Regions from separate parts of the Homo sapiens genome. Here region 2 is linked to region 1. The links are contacts of gene promoters, found by promoter capture Hi-C in blood cells and fetal thymus (Javierre and others, 2016). All regions are on one chromosome and are shown on one strand. The core of a region is centred on a gene start or on the middle of the fragment in contact, and the rest is flanking DNA. Distances in the headings are between cores, read along the strand shown.

Region 1 (7,324 bases), core at 3,520-6,019:
ATTATCCAACACAAAATGCCAATAGCGCCAAGGTTGAGAAACCATTAACTCGTATATACAGCCACAATTTGACCTTATTCTATTTTTCCAGGCTTATCTCTTCTACTTTTACTCAACACTGATCCCCAAATATAAAAAAACAATTCCAAGTCTCAACACTTTTAATTTTTGCCTCACCAAGATTGCTGTTTATCTAAATCCTTCTGTTCATAGTTCCACTCTTACCTCCTCTCCTCAATGAAATTGTTCTACATCAATCTAATCTCATTTCCTATTAAAGACTTGAACTACACAAGTGATCAACCATCCTTTGTATCAACTATTTTATTTAATTATTCTAATTTTTATTTTACTTACATGTTATTTTACTTACTTATTCTAATATTATTACTACTGTTTTGTAAATTCACCATAACATCTAGCAAAGGGCTAAACTACGGACAATCAATGAACACATCTTGGTCCACTTATTCAAAGTCAGATTAAGCACAAAATACCACCAAAGTCTCAGGCTGACACTTCTCATTAAATTATTTCCTGGCAATATGGCCTAACTAAACTAACTTTTGATCAAGATCTAAAGTTAACCCCATTTTACTTTGCCTGGTGGGGGATAGGGGTAGAGAGCATGGCTAATCTGTCTGGTTAATAGAAGTAATACATGTCTGCATCTTTAAAAAGATGTAAACATTCTTTAAAACATTCAATTAATGTAGCAGATAACCAAATGTAAATAAGTCTCCTATCATACACCCAACCCTATGCCCAAGTCTCAAATATCAACACTTTAACTAGGTAAAACCATGAAATTGCTAATATTTGACTGTGTGTTTTGGACCTACAAAACTGGTAATTCCATATAGTTCAACCTAACATTTCTACATATGGTTCTTCTGGTGGTTATCACCATAATTCTAATAATGCATATATATCCTATTTTAGGACTTACTCATTTCAAACTTTATTGACTGCTTTCAATCAAAAATGAGAAGCTTACTTTTGCTTTTGCATTAAAAATAAAATATAAACTATCTTCAGTTTCATAATTTTCTAAAGGTACAGGCTCGTAATCACTTGCCAATCTTATGGGTGGGTCATTCTTTACCAATGTTGATTTGTTTCTATTTTATGATAGAGTTAAATTATGTTTATCTGCAAATGTTTTCTATATTTATTCTTAAAACCAAACAGAAATATAAAAAGTTTTATAGTCAGAATTTCAGATTTCAAGATGAAGGTAAGAAGAAATTGATCCACGGAATCCAGTTAGCCAAAATTAAGGCCAACGAATCTAACCACTTTAATATTAAGTTCTAAGGAAGTCCGTAGTTCATTCAATGAGTCATTTCTAGAAGTTGTTTTGAAAGAAGATATGATCAGACAGATGTTTAGCTACCATTTCTCTACTTCCAATTTAATCTCCTATTCGTAAGTAGGGCTGGGAATCCACAACTTCAACATGTTTGGAAACCAGTGATAGGACTAATGTCTTATTCTCTACAAGACTCCAACTAAATATATACTATCTCAGGCACAGAAAAGATTCAAATGGAAAACAATGGTAATCTAGAGTAAGCGAATATCTCAGCTATGCAGAGCATCAATGCACCTAAAACAAGAGTCAAAAATATGATTCAATTTCTGTTGACTACTAATCATTTTAAATACAATCATTTTCTTCTAAATTCCCTTTTACAATAAATACCAAGAACTATACATACAAATTTGTGACCTGAGACCACAGATCACAAATTTAAGCTCCCCAGGGGGCCAGGAAGGTAAATTATGAGTGCAGCATACTAGATATTATATTACAAGAGGGAACAGAAAGTAAATATTTTTAGTGTGTTTAAGGGATATATAGATATATCAACCTAACAAAACTCATCCTATCATTTTTCACAAATAACAGTTCTCTTCAACTATAATTAGGATTTAACAAGGTCAGAAATCTCTACTTAGCTCGATATCATAAAATATTTTGAGAAAGTACTTTATGTTTGTATCAGATTGTTTTACCACTTGAAAAAGAAGTGATACCTGTGAATATTCCATCTCAATGAACAAACCTTGGAAACAAATTGTCCATAAAGTCAAGATTTATTGTCACATAATAATGTAATACTTAATGTAAGTTTTAGAATTGTTCCCATATTCAAAGAATTCGTAACTTCCACGACCCAACTATGTTTGTCAAAGTTTACAACCACAACCATAACAAACCAAAACTACATCCTAGCCAGGAATATTCTTATCTGCCAAGGTCTTTACCAAGAGAACTAAGATTTAAATTTTACCTCCTTTCCCTTCCCCTTCCCTTCTTTGGAAATACCAAATATCAGCAAACCAACTAAATGGGAGATAAAGAGCTGAGAAGCAAAGGATAAAAAAACAGTTAATCAAGATAAACTTATCAATTTTTGATTGCTGCGGATGAATTCAATTAGTAACCAAATAGTCAGTTTCTGTTTAAGATTCCGTCCATCAACTCTTGGGATCCAAGCAGATAAACAGACTAAATTCTGAAGTCAAATCCATTGGATCCGTTACTGCCTGAGTGACCTCATGCCAGTTCTTTAAACTCAATACCCCTGTTACCTGTAAAATGGTATCTCCTTCACTAAGTTACTGTGAAAATTAAGTGAGATTATGCAAACAAAAAGTTATCAGTAAATCACAATGCAAATTCTGCTGTTGATGCTACTAAAAGTAGCAACAGTAATATAATTTCGTTCATCCCTTCCTACTATCCCTAGCAGGAAAAAGACAAGGGAAAACCAGAAGAAGGAGAGATGTGACTAACCACGGCAAACTCTCTGGAAGTATATTTAAAAACTGTTGAAGAGATGAAACTGGAAAGGCTTTTACTTCTCATTTTATTTAAATTTTCATCTCACTTTATTAAAATTTTCAAAAGAGGTGGAATTACACATAATTTTCATTGTTCATGTTTATCAGTATTTTTCCCATAAAACATTTAAATTAAACATAATTTTTGTTTCTCAGATTCCTTCAATTGAAACTGTATATATACATAAGGTACACTGAACAGAAAATACAAAGGAAAATCATACTTTTCTGTTTTCCAGTTTAGTACAATGTGAATATACGACCTTTAAAAAAAGTTTTTAAAATTACTAAATATAGTGAGCAAGCATGCATGACTTATACTTCAGAGACATCTGAAAGGCCCAATCCACAAGGTCCAGCACCTACTATAATTTGAAGTGCAACTCTTACTCTGGTCAATTTTATTCTAGTAAAAGAGCTAATACACAAAAAAAGCAAAACTCCCCTAAGAGATTGTCAAGTGATCTGAAAAAAGAAGAACCCTGCTCAGGGACTATTAATGGTCCACACACCTCTCAGGATACTTTTCTACTTCGGGATATCTTTCAGTTTTTTCCTCTATAATATAAGCATAAATATATTTTAAGGTGTAAAACAGAGAAATCCTTTTGCATCTTTGGAAAAAGTCCTTCCCCTGACTGCTAATTATCTCTGAGGAAAACAGAAGCAATTATAGGTCTAGTGACAGGATCTAAAGGCAAAATGGGAAATCAAATGGACAAAATAAATGAAGTTTACGTGCTTTCACTTAAAATTGGCATTTTAATCAAAACCGATTTAAAAAGTCTAAAAATAAGCCTAACTCCAGAAAGCTGGGAAAGGGGAAGAGAGAAGGAAATATTTACCTGAGGCATCTCCAACTTTAAAATCACTGTCATCTGAACTATCATAATCAAGAGCTTCCAGCAGAGAAGCTGCCAAAGGCTTCACCTGCCTCCTCTTGGAGCTGCGATCCACTGTGAAGAGAAAAAAATTACATTGTCATTCATAATCACACCAAACACAGGGGAGAGTTGTGGTGCTAAGAGAACATAAAGATGACCTCGCACAAGGAATTTTTGTCTAACTGAGTTCTCAGCAAAAGGGGTCAGGAGAAGGTTGGGGTGCAGAAGCAGGGTGGGGAGGGCTGGACAGCTCCACGGGCAGTTTCAAAGGCAGCTCCAGCCCTGATGCTGCCAACGCCAACTCAGACCAGCTAAAATCGAAGCTGACCCTCTTGCTCATCTTTTCGAGATGTTTCTGCACCTTCCTCGTAATCCCCCACTTAGACATCGTAACAGTCAATAAAAACGGCAAAAATCAGGGAATAAAACAAGCGGGCTTCATTCCCGCGGACCATGGAGGGCGAGGGTCCACCAATCCTGCTTTCCCGCAGGACTCTCCCACCCCTGCCCTGCTCCCACCGGCCCTGACTTCTAGAATGGCTGAAATGGACCTCTCGCCGCAGAGGCCTCGGATACACTTACTAAGGAATCCGTGAGGTGGTCGTTTGGAGAAGACTTAGGGAGAGGCTGCAGGAGCCCAGGCAGCGCCGAGGTCGGGGACTGGGGCCGCGAAGACAAGTCCGAAAGATGCTATTTAAAACCGGCGCGCAGCCAGCCGGACAGGGGCGCTCCCAAGAGTAGCCCCGCGGTCCCCTAACCCCCCGCCCCCCCGGCCTCGCCTGGCCCTGGCCGCTCGAGCCCCTTCCCACAGCGCTCCCTGGCCGGAGAAGACCTCCGGCCCAGGCAGCGCAGTCAACCCGGCGGCCCCGGGGAGTTAATTTCTCCCGTTAAAACTAGAAGAAAAAAAATTAAAGAAAGAAAAACTTTATTAGCCTGGACCAGAAGCAACGAAAGACCAGAAATTGCACAGCGCGAGGGCGGCTGCCTCAGACAATAGGGAAAGCAGCGACCCGGATACAGCTCTGAAAAGGAAGTGAAAACACGAGGCTGAGCGCAGCCCTGAGAGCAGCAGGAATTGAGGGCGCATGCGCAGGACTCGCCCCCGCGCACCCTTCCCGAGCAGGAGCCGAACAGAGCCGAGTGAAAGCCCAGGGAGCCGCGCGGAGGCGAGCGGAGCCGAGTAGTGCCAAGGCGGAGCAGAGATCCCCGCCAAACCCTGTGCAATTCCGCCCATAAACCCCAAAGGCTCCGCCCTCTCCGCGCCTAATTCACCTCCTGAGTCCAAATCCCTGGGAGGCCAGTTTTTGTTTCTGATCTGTTTTTTAAGGATTTACTGAGTAAACGTTCCACAAAGGGATGTTTGCTACCTTAAGCCACTACCAATATTTAAATGATATTGTCACCGGTAGAGGATCGTGACTGCAAGTTGTCCAGGTTCTTGGCGTTTTTAACAAAGAATTGGACAAAACGCCCAGCAAAGCAAAGAAAGAATGAAGCAACAAAACAACAAAAGCAGGGACTTATTGAAAATTAAAGCACGCTCTGTACGGAAGCGACCTGAGCAGCGGCTCAAGGGCCCGGATACAGAATCTTGAGTCCAAATACCCTCTAGAAGCTTCCTATTGGCCACCTAATGCTCACCTCATGTAAATGAAGTAACGCGCAATCAGTCTGATTGGTTGCAGAAAGCAGCCAACCAGAGGCTGAAGTGAAGTTACAAAGGTCATGCTCCTGTGCAAACATTGGTGCAAAAAGCAATCAATCAGAGGCTAGGGTGAAGTTACAAAGTGGTATACCTCTATGCAAAGGAAGATTTCCCCTGCAATCAGTTTGATTTCTTGCAGATGGTGAAGTTACAAAGTGATACTTCTATGCAAAGGAAGACTCTCCTGCAATCAGTCTGATTTGCTGCCCACAGCCAATTTCCCATCTGCCCTGCAGAAAAAGTGGGGGTTTGCAAAGGGAGTAGCCTCTGGTCCTTTTGTTACTTAGGCATGGAAAGTTAGGGGTTTCCTTTCAATTTAGTTCTTAGGAAGTCGGAGTGACACATCCTTAGGTTCCCTGCCTCCACACCCTATTCTCCTGCCTCACTCTCACCCAAACTATCATTGCCATGTGACCTCTCAAACTTTTCTATTGTGCTATAGAAACTTCTATTCCAAAATGTATAACCTACTTAGTAAACATTTTTCCTTTTCAATGCCCATTCTTTTTACCTCCTCATCTGAAATAGAAACAGTTACCCTGCAGCCCTCTCAAATGAAAACCACTCATCCTTCCATACTTCATTTTCTCAAGGTGCAGAAGTGGCATCCCATGCTTAATACTCCTCATTGCCTTTCAGATATTTATTCTTCCAGTTAAAATCCTAGGAACTTGGTTATTTTAAAAACTCCACTCTGGGAATTTCACTTCCATTCTACTTTAAACACCAACCATATCATGGACTGATAGTCTTATCTATGAAATTATAAATCCAAATATTCCACTGTTTGACAATAGCCTTTTAGATTTATTTGGAGCAATTATGCTGAATCATCTAAAAGAGAAATTCAAAATCTGGCATTCGTGTTTATGTAAAACTAATTTCTAGAAGGAGATTTTCAGAATCAAAATGTATTAATTCATTTACTTTAATAAATAACACCTAGTTGCTCTAGAAAAACTGTACTGCCGGGTGCGGTGGCTCACGCCTGTAATCCCAACACTTTGGGAGGCTGAGGCGGGTGGATCACTTGAGGTTGGGAGTTCGAGACCAGCCTGCCCAACATGATGAAACCCCGTGTCTACTAAAAATACAAAAATTAGCTGGGCGTGGTGGCACATACCTGTAATTCCAGCTACTTGGGAGGCTGAGGCAGGAGAATCACTTGAACCTGGGAGGCAGAGGTTGCAGTGAGCAGAGATCACGCCACTGCATTCCAGCCTGGGTGACAAGAGTGAAACTCCGTCTCAAAAAAAAAAAAAAAAAAGTCTGTACTAATATATATACCACCAAGAGTGGATAAGAATTCTTTCTAGTTTTCCAAACCTGTGGCCATTGGATATCAGCAATCATTTTTTTTTAACTTTTAATTTTGAAGTAATTTCAGATTTACCAAAAAGTGCAATAATAATACTGAGTTTTTGTACATCCTTCACCTAGCTACCACTAATATCAGTATCTTATATAACCATAATACATTTATCAAAACTAAGAAACTAACATGAGTACAGTTTTGTTGACTAAACACTTTATTTATATTTCACTAATTTTCCTACTAATGTCCTTTTTTCTGTTCCAAGATCCAATCCAGAAGACAATATTGCATTTAGGTTATTAATCTTTTGCAATTCATGTATTGAAAGAAAGTAAGAGAAGGAAAGAAGGAGAAAAGGAGGGAAGGAAGAGAGGGAGGGAAAAAGGAAGAAGAAAAGTAGGGTAAAAAGAAAAGAAAAAAATTACCTAATTCCTTTTTTTGACCTGCATTCAATAAACATGGAAAGAACTGCTGGTTGTTTCCCAATACCCATTATCTCCTTTTTCTTCAAAAATGGAAGCTCCAAATTTTAACTGGGCATAAGTTTTCAAAGAATAAAGACATAATATA
Region 2 (7,324 bases), core at 4,825-7,324, 5.4 Mb before region 1:
AGTTAAAGGTCAGAGGTTAATAGACTGTACCATTTACATAAGATACACAATAGCAAAACAGAAATTAGAATTCATAGGCTGCCAGAAATTATGGGGATGGCCCATGGTAGAATGTTAATTTATTTCTTCTGGCTCTGATTTCAGTGGAGTTAAAGGATGAACCGTTAAGCTGTTCATTAGTACTGATGAGAAACACCCCAACTAATCTCAAGAAAGGGTACTAAAACAATAAGTGTAGCTGGGGAGGAGGGGTATGACTGGTAGTGCTAATTATATTTGAGTTAATACTAAAAAAATTAACCCACTGGAAACTAAAATTTTCTAATAAAAGAAATCTCTAAGACAAGTATTCCAGAGAGGTATACTAACATGTAAAGACAAACAAACAAACAAAAAAGTAAGTTTTGGGTATTTCAGATATAAAGATGAGAGCCACTTCCATTTATTGTGCACTTCTGTGCATACTAAAAAGTAAAGACAACGGCAGGAACTAATAAGTGATTATAGCAGTGCTGTAGGATCCAAGGTTAATACAAAAAAGTCAGTCATTTTCTATATACCAGTAATGAACAAGTGGAATTTGAAATTAAAAACACAGTATTATTTACATTAACCCCCCCATGAAATCCTTAGGTGTACATTTAAGACAACATGTACAAGATCCATATGAGAAAAAGTACAAAACTGATGAAAGATATCACAAAAGAACTAAGTAAAGATGTTCCATGTTTGTGGGTAGAAAGACTCAATGTTGTCAAGATGTCAGTTCTTCCAAAATTAATCTATAAATTCAATGCAATCCCAATCAAAATACCAGCAAGTTATTTTGTGGACATTGACAAACTGATTTTTAAGTTTATATGGAGAGGCAAGAGACCCAGAATAGCCAACACGATATTGAAGAAGAACAAAGTTGGAAGACAGACACTACTGGATCTCAAGACATATAAAAAGCTACAGTAATCAGGACAGTGTGGTATTGACTAAAGGATGTACAAATGAATCAATGGAACATTATAAAGAAACCAGAATTAGACTCAAATAAATACAGTCAACTGATCTTTGACAAAGGAGCAAAGGCAACAAAATGAAGCGAAGACAGTCTTTTCAACAAATGTTGCTGCAACAACTGCATATCTACATGCAAAAACAACAAATAATCTAGACAAACCTTATACCCTTTACAAAATTAACTCAAAACTCACTGACCTAAATGAATCACCGACCTAAAAAAACCCACAAAACTATAAAACTCCTAATAGATAGCATAGCAGAAAACCTAGGTGATCATTTTTTAAAAGCACCACCAAAGGCATGATCCATGAAAAACAATTGATAAGCTGGACTTCATTATCACTAAAAATTTCTGCTCTGCAAAAGACACTGTTGAGAATAAGAAGACAAGCCACAGAGAAAATATTTGCCAAAGTAATATCAGATAAAAAATTGTTCTTCAAAATAAACAAAGAACTCTCAAAACTGAACAATAAAAACACAAATGACCCAACTAAAAAGTGGGCCAAAGACTCTGACACCTCACCAAATATGATACACATGACAAATACGCATATGAACAATGCTCAACATCATATGTCATCAAATAAATACAAATTAAATCAACACTGAGATACCACTACACACCTATTAGAATGGCCAACATCCAGAACACTGACACACCAAATGCTGGTGAGGATGTGAAGCAACAGAAACTCTCATTCATTGCTGGTGGGAATGCAAAATGGTATACCTATTTTGGAGGACCGTTTGGCCGTTTCTTACAAAACTGACCATACTTTTGCCCGTGCAATTCAGCAATCTTTCTCCTTGGTATTTACCCAAAGGAATTGAAAATTTTTGTACACATAAAAACCTGCACAGAGGAACAGAAAACCAAACACCGCATGTTCTCACTTATAAGTGAGAGCTGAATAATCAGAACACGGGGAGGGGAACCACACCGGGACCTGTAGGGAGATGGGGAGTGGGGAGGGAGAACATTAGGAAAAATAGCTAATGCATGCTGGGTTTAATACCTAGGTCAAGGGTTGATAGGTACAGCAAACCACCATGGCATACGTTTACCTTTGTAACAAACCTGCACATCCTGCACATGTACCCCAGAACTTAAAATAAAATTAAAAAAAACCCTACACAGAGATGTTTATTACAGCTTAATCATAATTGCCAAAACTTGGAAGCAAACAAGATGTCTTTCAGTAGGTGAGTGAATAAATACATCACAGTACATCCAGAAAAAAAAAAAAAATCAGTGTTAAAGAGAAAGAAGCTGTCAAGCCATGAAAAGATATGGAGAAAACTTAAATGCATATTACTAAGTGAAAGAAGCCAATCTGAAAAGAATACTGTATGGTTCCAACTATATGATGTTCTGGAAAAGGCAAAAGCATGGAGGCAGTAAAAAGATAATTGGATGCCAGGGATTGGGCAGGGATTAGAGGAGAGGAAGGCATGAATAGACAGAGGATAGAGGATTTTAGGGCAGTGAAATTACTCTGCATGATACTGTAATGGTGGATACACATCACTGTAAATTTATCAATCCTATAGAATGAATGTACAACACCAAGTGTGAACTCTAACGTAAACTAGGGACTGTGGGTTATAATGATGTGTCACTGTAGGTTCATCAGTTGTAACCAATGTACCACTCTGGTGGGAGATGTTAATAATGTGGGAGGCTATGTATGTGTGGGGCAGGGAGCTATTGGAAATTTTTGTACCTTTCTCTCAATTTTGCTGTGAACCTAAAACTACACTTAGTCTACTTTAAAAAATTAAAGGCATGCCAAAGCCAGGTTATGAAATCGTGGTATACATTTAACAAAGTTATGCTTTAAACATTTATAATACATTTTTAAATTCACAAGACAAAGGATTTATTTTAAAAGTCAATACTGGGGTTCTAGTAACGAGACATAAAGTTGAATGAACAGTGCCTTATTTTTTCAATCATATTACTGCATTTCTAACTACGTATAACTTCATTTGCAGATTATAGTCCAAATGAGAATCTTCCTCAGTGTGAAGCCTGTATTAGTTTCCTCTTGCTGCTATAATAAATTACCACAGATTTAGCAGCTTAAAACAACTCAAGTATGTTATCTTACAGTTCTGGATATCAGAAATCTGAAAATGGGGTGGCAGGGCTATATTATTCTGCAGGCTCTAAGAGAAAAACCTGTTTCCTTGCCTTTTCCAGCTTTTAGAGGTTGCCTACATTCCCACCCCTCTGCACTCTGATGGCTGCTTCCATCCTCATACCTCCTTCTCTAACTCTGACCTCTCTCCTATAAGGATGCCAGAGATTACACAGGGCCCACCTGGATAATCCAGGCTACTCCCCTCCATCTTGAGATCCTTCACTTAATCACATCTGCAATGTCTCTTTAGCAGTGTAAGGTAACATATTCATAGCTTCTGGAGATAAGAGCATGGGCATCTTTGGGGAGTCATTATTTTGCCTACTTGGAAGCTCAAAATGGAAACCACTCCAGGAACTTCCAACTCTGCATGCTCTGCCTCATGATTCAGTTGGGGTTTATTTTTTCTAAACTCTTCAAGTGATATCTTAGAATTGTTATTACCAATGGGTCCCAGAGGAGTTCACTTTTCAGGGTATGTACTTTCACATGCCTGATGCAGAGAAGATATTCTCATATTGTGGCTGCTATAACTTGGTATTAAGTAACAAGGAAGCTACATCTGTTACCCCAAAGTATGCAAAACATGGAACTAATTATATTTATATAAAAAGGACAGAGAGAAAAATGTTGCTTCATACTACGTATATGAATGAATACTTTAATGTGCCCTTTTTTCTCTACAAGTTGGTCTGCTAGACATTGTTAATATACAGTATATAAGATCTAAGGATCTAAGGATTCATGGAAGATCTAAATTGATATATCTGCTCTAAGAACAAAACTAAGATTCTAGTTAAAATTTGTCAATGTTTAATTATATAAAATTATTCTATAGCAATTAGTATAACAAGAGCTTTATTACTCTACTTTTCTTCACTCAAGATTAAGTAAAGGAAGAATACCTTTATAACAACTCCACCTTTAGATTAAAAAGGGAGGTTTAAAGATCAATATTAATAGAAATACTAATTCGATTTGCCTTCCTGCTCTCATAGATAGACTCATTTATTTATCCACCCAGTTAGTCAACAGATATTTAAATGCTTGATACAGGTGTGGTAGTGGCGCTATGAAGTCAAGTATTGTGCCAAACTTGTTTAATATAGTTGCTGCCTGGGCATCCATTTTTAGGCCTGATATAAGCTGTTTGAAACCCAGTTGTATCACGTCACCTGTGGCCTACTTAAAACTTCCCCTCCCTGTGATATAGAACACTTATTCCTCATTCCATGACCAAAAACCCAACAGCTGCTAACCATGATAAAACCCAATGGTCAACACCAGAGTCAAGTTCTCCCTTTGCTGGTGTTTTCTTTAAACTAGTCAATCCACAACCCCCTCTGGAAAGCCTAAGGGATAAAGCCTTTGGACCTTAACACAGCCCCACAGGTCCTCTCTCTTGCACCCCACCTGCTGGTTGGGAGTCCTGTTATCTCCAGACTTCCATCAGGCTTATTCTCTGGTGAATCTGTAAGTAATAAAATGCGCCTGTTATTTCACATGTTTTGTGTGCTGCCTCCTCTGGCGTCTCACCTGCACACCAGAACCTAGCTTTCCTCTCTGGGCCAGGGCTCTCCTGAAGAGTGGCTGTTCTGGCTTATGGCCACTCGTAAGAGAGAGACCTCGAGATCAAATTAGAAAGGAACGATAGCAATAAAAATTACAAGGAAGTATATTATGGCACCCACTTTTCAGTTAAGAAACCAACTAGCACAGGACCTAAATGCTAATTATAATAAAAGTAACAAAAGTGAAAGAATGCCTTCAATAAGACTAAACAAAAAGGAAAAGCAGAAAACATATTTTTATATGCTCTCAAGAAAACAGGTAAAAATAAAAATTGTAATACTACAACTAGATAACATTTCCAGTGTTTAAAAAGATTATTTTTTATTAATCATAAGCCACTGGATTAAGACTGAATTACTGATGATTATACACTTTAATGATCATTAATCTATTTAATCAGCAATTCATTCAATACATATTAAGCTTGTGTTACATTCCAGGAGCTGGGCACACACACACAACCCAAGCCAAAAGAAAAATGTTGCTGCTTGCATGGAGTTTACATTCCAGGGACCTAATACAATAGTGCTCTCCTCCAAATTCTCACTATACTTTCATGGTAAACCTCACCAGCAACAAGAGTACTAAATAAGGTAAGATATGCTTTAGGCCTGGAATTCTTCAACTTTGGCCTACTTCTGTATGAGGGCCTTAAGGCTCCTCTGCCATTAGTTGTGCAATCTTACATAAATTAACCATTTTAACGTCTTTTCCCCTTTGTAAAAAGGGAAATGGCAATAGTTGAGTTCTTCTGGGGACTAAATGACATAAGGTGTATCGATTGTTCAGCAATTAGTATTGCTTTGACCCTATGGTTCCAAAACATGCCTGCTCATCAGAATCACCCGAGGATCTTTAAAAACATTCCAAAGTCCGGTGCTCACCAGACCAATTAAATCCCAATCTCTGAGCGTGTCAGGACACGCTCCCCAGGTGGTTCCAAAGTGCAGACAAGTTTGAGAGCCACCACAGTTTGGATTATTGATGTGCCACAATAACACTTGCTAATCCATCTGTCTTTACCCCAGGTGGAACCAGGAAGCCTCCAGAGCTTAATGGAATTCAGATAATCGAGGTGCATACGCACCCTACGTCCCATCCTGTGACTTGAATCCCAATCTCTTCCGAAATTTTAAAGCAGGGAGGGATGGGACAGAGGCCTGACCTCTCCTGCATACTCATGGCCCTTGAGTATCTGCGATCTTTAGATATGTAGGGCGTTCTGACATTTCCACTTGCGGCGACAGCTGGGCCTGCCCGGGGGAAGCGCAGAGCGGGCAAGTCAGCCCTCCCGCAGGCGCTGGGACCGGGTGCGGAGGCCGCAGCCGAGCCGCGAGGGCAGATCGGCAGCCTCAGCTGCTGCCGTAGCTGTCGGGATCGTCCCCTGCGGGGCAGCAACAGCGGGGCTCCGACGGCTGAGGGGGGCGCCTTCTGCTTGCGCGCTCTGCGTCCCTCTCCGTGGTCTGCCCTTCGCCCCGCGACCCCGGCCGAGGGTGGGAGCAGCGCGGGGTCGCATCGGCCCGAGGCTAGCGGGGCTCGCCGTTCCGCCCGCAGCCATGGAGGCCGGGCCGCCGGGCAGCGCCAGGCCGGCGGAGCCGGGTCCTTGCCTGAGTGGTCAGCGCGGCGCGGACCACACGGCTTCCGCCTCCCTGCAGAGCGTGGCCGGGACCGAGCCCGGGCGCCACCCGCAAGCCGTGGCAGCTGTGTTGCCTGCCGGGGGGTGCGGGGAGAGGATGGGGGTCCCCACCCCGAAGCAATTCTGCCCCATCCTGGAGAGGCCGCTCATCAGCTACACCCTACAGGCCCTGGAGAGGTAATGCGGCGCCGGGCGCGCCCCGCGGTTCCCTGGGGCCCGGCCTCCCGCTCCCCGCCCTGCCGCTGCTCTAGCGCTAGCACCTTCACTTGGGGGACTGCCGGGCCGCGCTCAGTTATTCAAGCTTGAGCTCTGTTCCCTCCCGCATTTCAGAGATGGGAAGTTCTGGCCTTTAACAGATGGGCACGAAAGCTGCAGCTCCCCCACAGAGCCCTTTACGTCCCCAAGCAGATGAGGTTGTGGGGAAGGCCCGTCGTGTGGCGCCGATTAGAGAGTGCATGGGTTGGGACTAGGCGATTTGGGGTTCTAGCTGTGGGGCCTGAGGAGAAGCTGTGCGGATAGTCTCGCGGTCCTGGGGCTCTGCCTCCGCGCATGCGTGGATTGAGTTGTACGTGCACACTGAAGTTTCCAGGGCGTGTGTTCGTTTTTTTCATTCATTTACTGAGCACCTTCTGTGAGACAGGCTGCGCTAATTACTAGGTGCTGCAGGAGGGGAGAGGAGCAGAATTTAATAACCTTTCAATGGTGGAAAGGGCTTTAAGCCTGAATTTGAGGTCATACCCCCTTTATCTTAGAAAGGGCACTGAAGTTAACTAGTTGGGGAAATGAAGGAGACAGGGAATGGGATAAGGAGGACTAGGGGAACAGTCGTGAGGAGCTGAGGAAGTGAAATGAAGGGGTATGTTATAATATTAACTTACTTTGCTTTTAGCACTGAGTAATGAGGTGGAGCTTGGGGCGAGGGTGCAGGGGTGGGAAGCAGCGGCATTACAAATAT

What was found. Contacts are between HindIII fragments. The CHiCAGO score rates a contact against its expected background, and 5 or more counts as called.
Region 2: the fragment with the promoter of CRPPA here is called in contact with the fragment with the promoter of PHF14 in region 1 in 2 of 17 cell types (activated CD4 T cells and total CD8 T cells); the score reaches 6.1 in activated CD4 T cells.

Annotation. Positions count from the first base shown.
Region 1 is chr7:10,971,317-10,978,640 of GRCh38, reverse strand. PHF14 (PHD finger protein 14) reads right to left here and starts at 4,769. Exons shown (of 18, transcript NM_001007157.2): 1 at 4,317-4,769; 2 at 3,696-3,806. The coding sequence starts at 4,317. RefSeq lists silencers at 3,925-3,974, 4,955-5,014, 5,525-5,574 and an enhancer at 4,705-4,999. The HindIII fragment of the contact is 4,357 bases long and covers 995-5,351 here.
Region 2 is chr7:16,420,288-16,427,611 of GRCh38, reverse strand. It overlaps CRPPA (CDP-L-ribitol pyrophosphorylase A), which reads left to right and starts at 6,074. Exons shown (of 10, transcript NM_001101426.4): 1 at 6,074-6,546. The coding sequence starts at 6,290. It overlaps LOC105375168 (a long non-coding RNA gene), which reads right to left and starts at 6,926. Exons shown (of 5, transcript XR_007060223.1): 1 at 6,630-6,926; 2 at 4,575-4,632. RefSeq lists silencers at 6,264-6,403, 6,424-6,483. The HindIII fragment of the contact is 1,514 bases long and covers 5,159-6,672 here.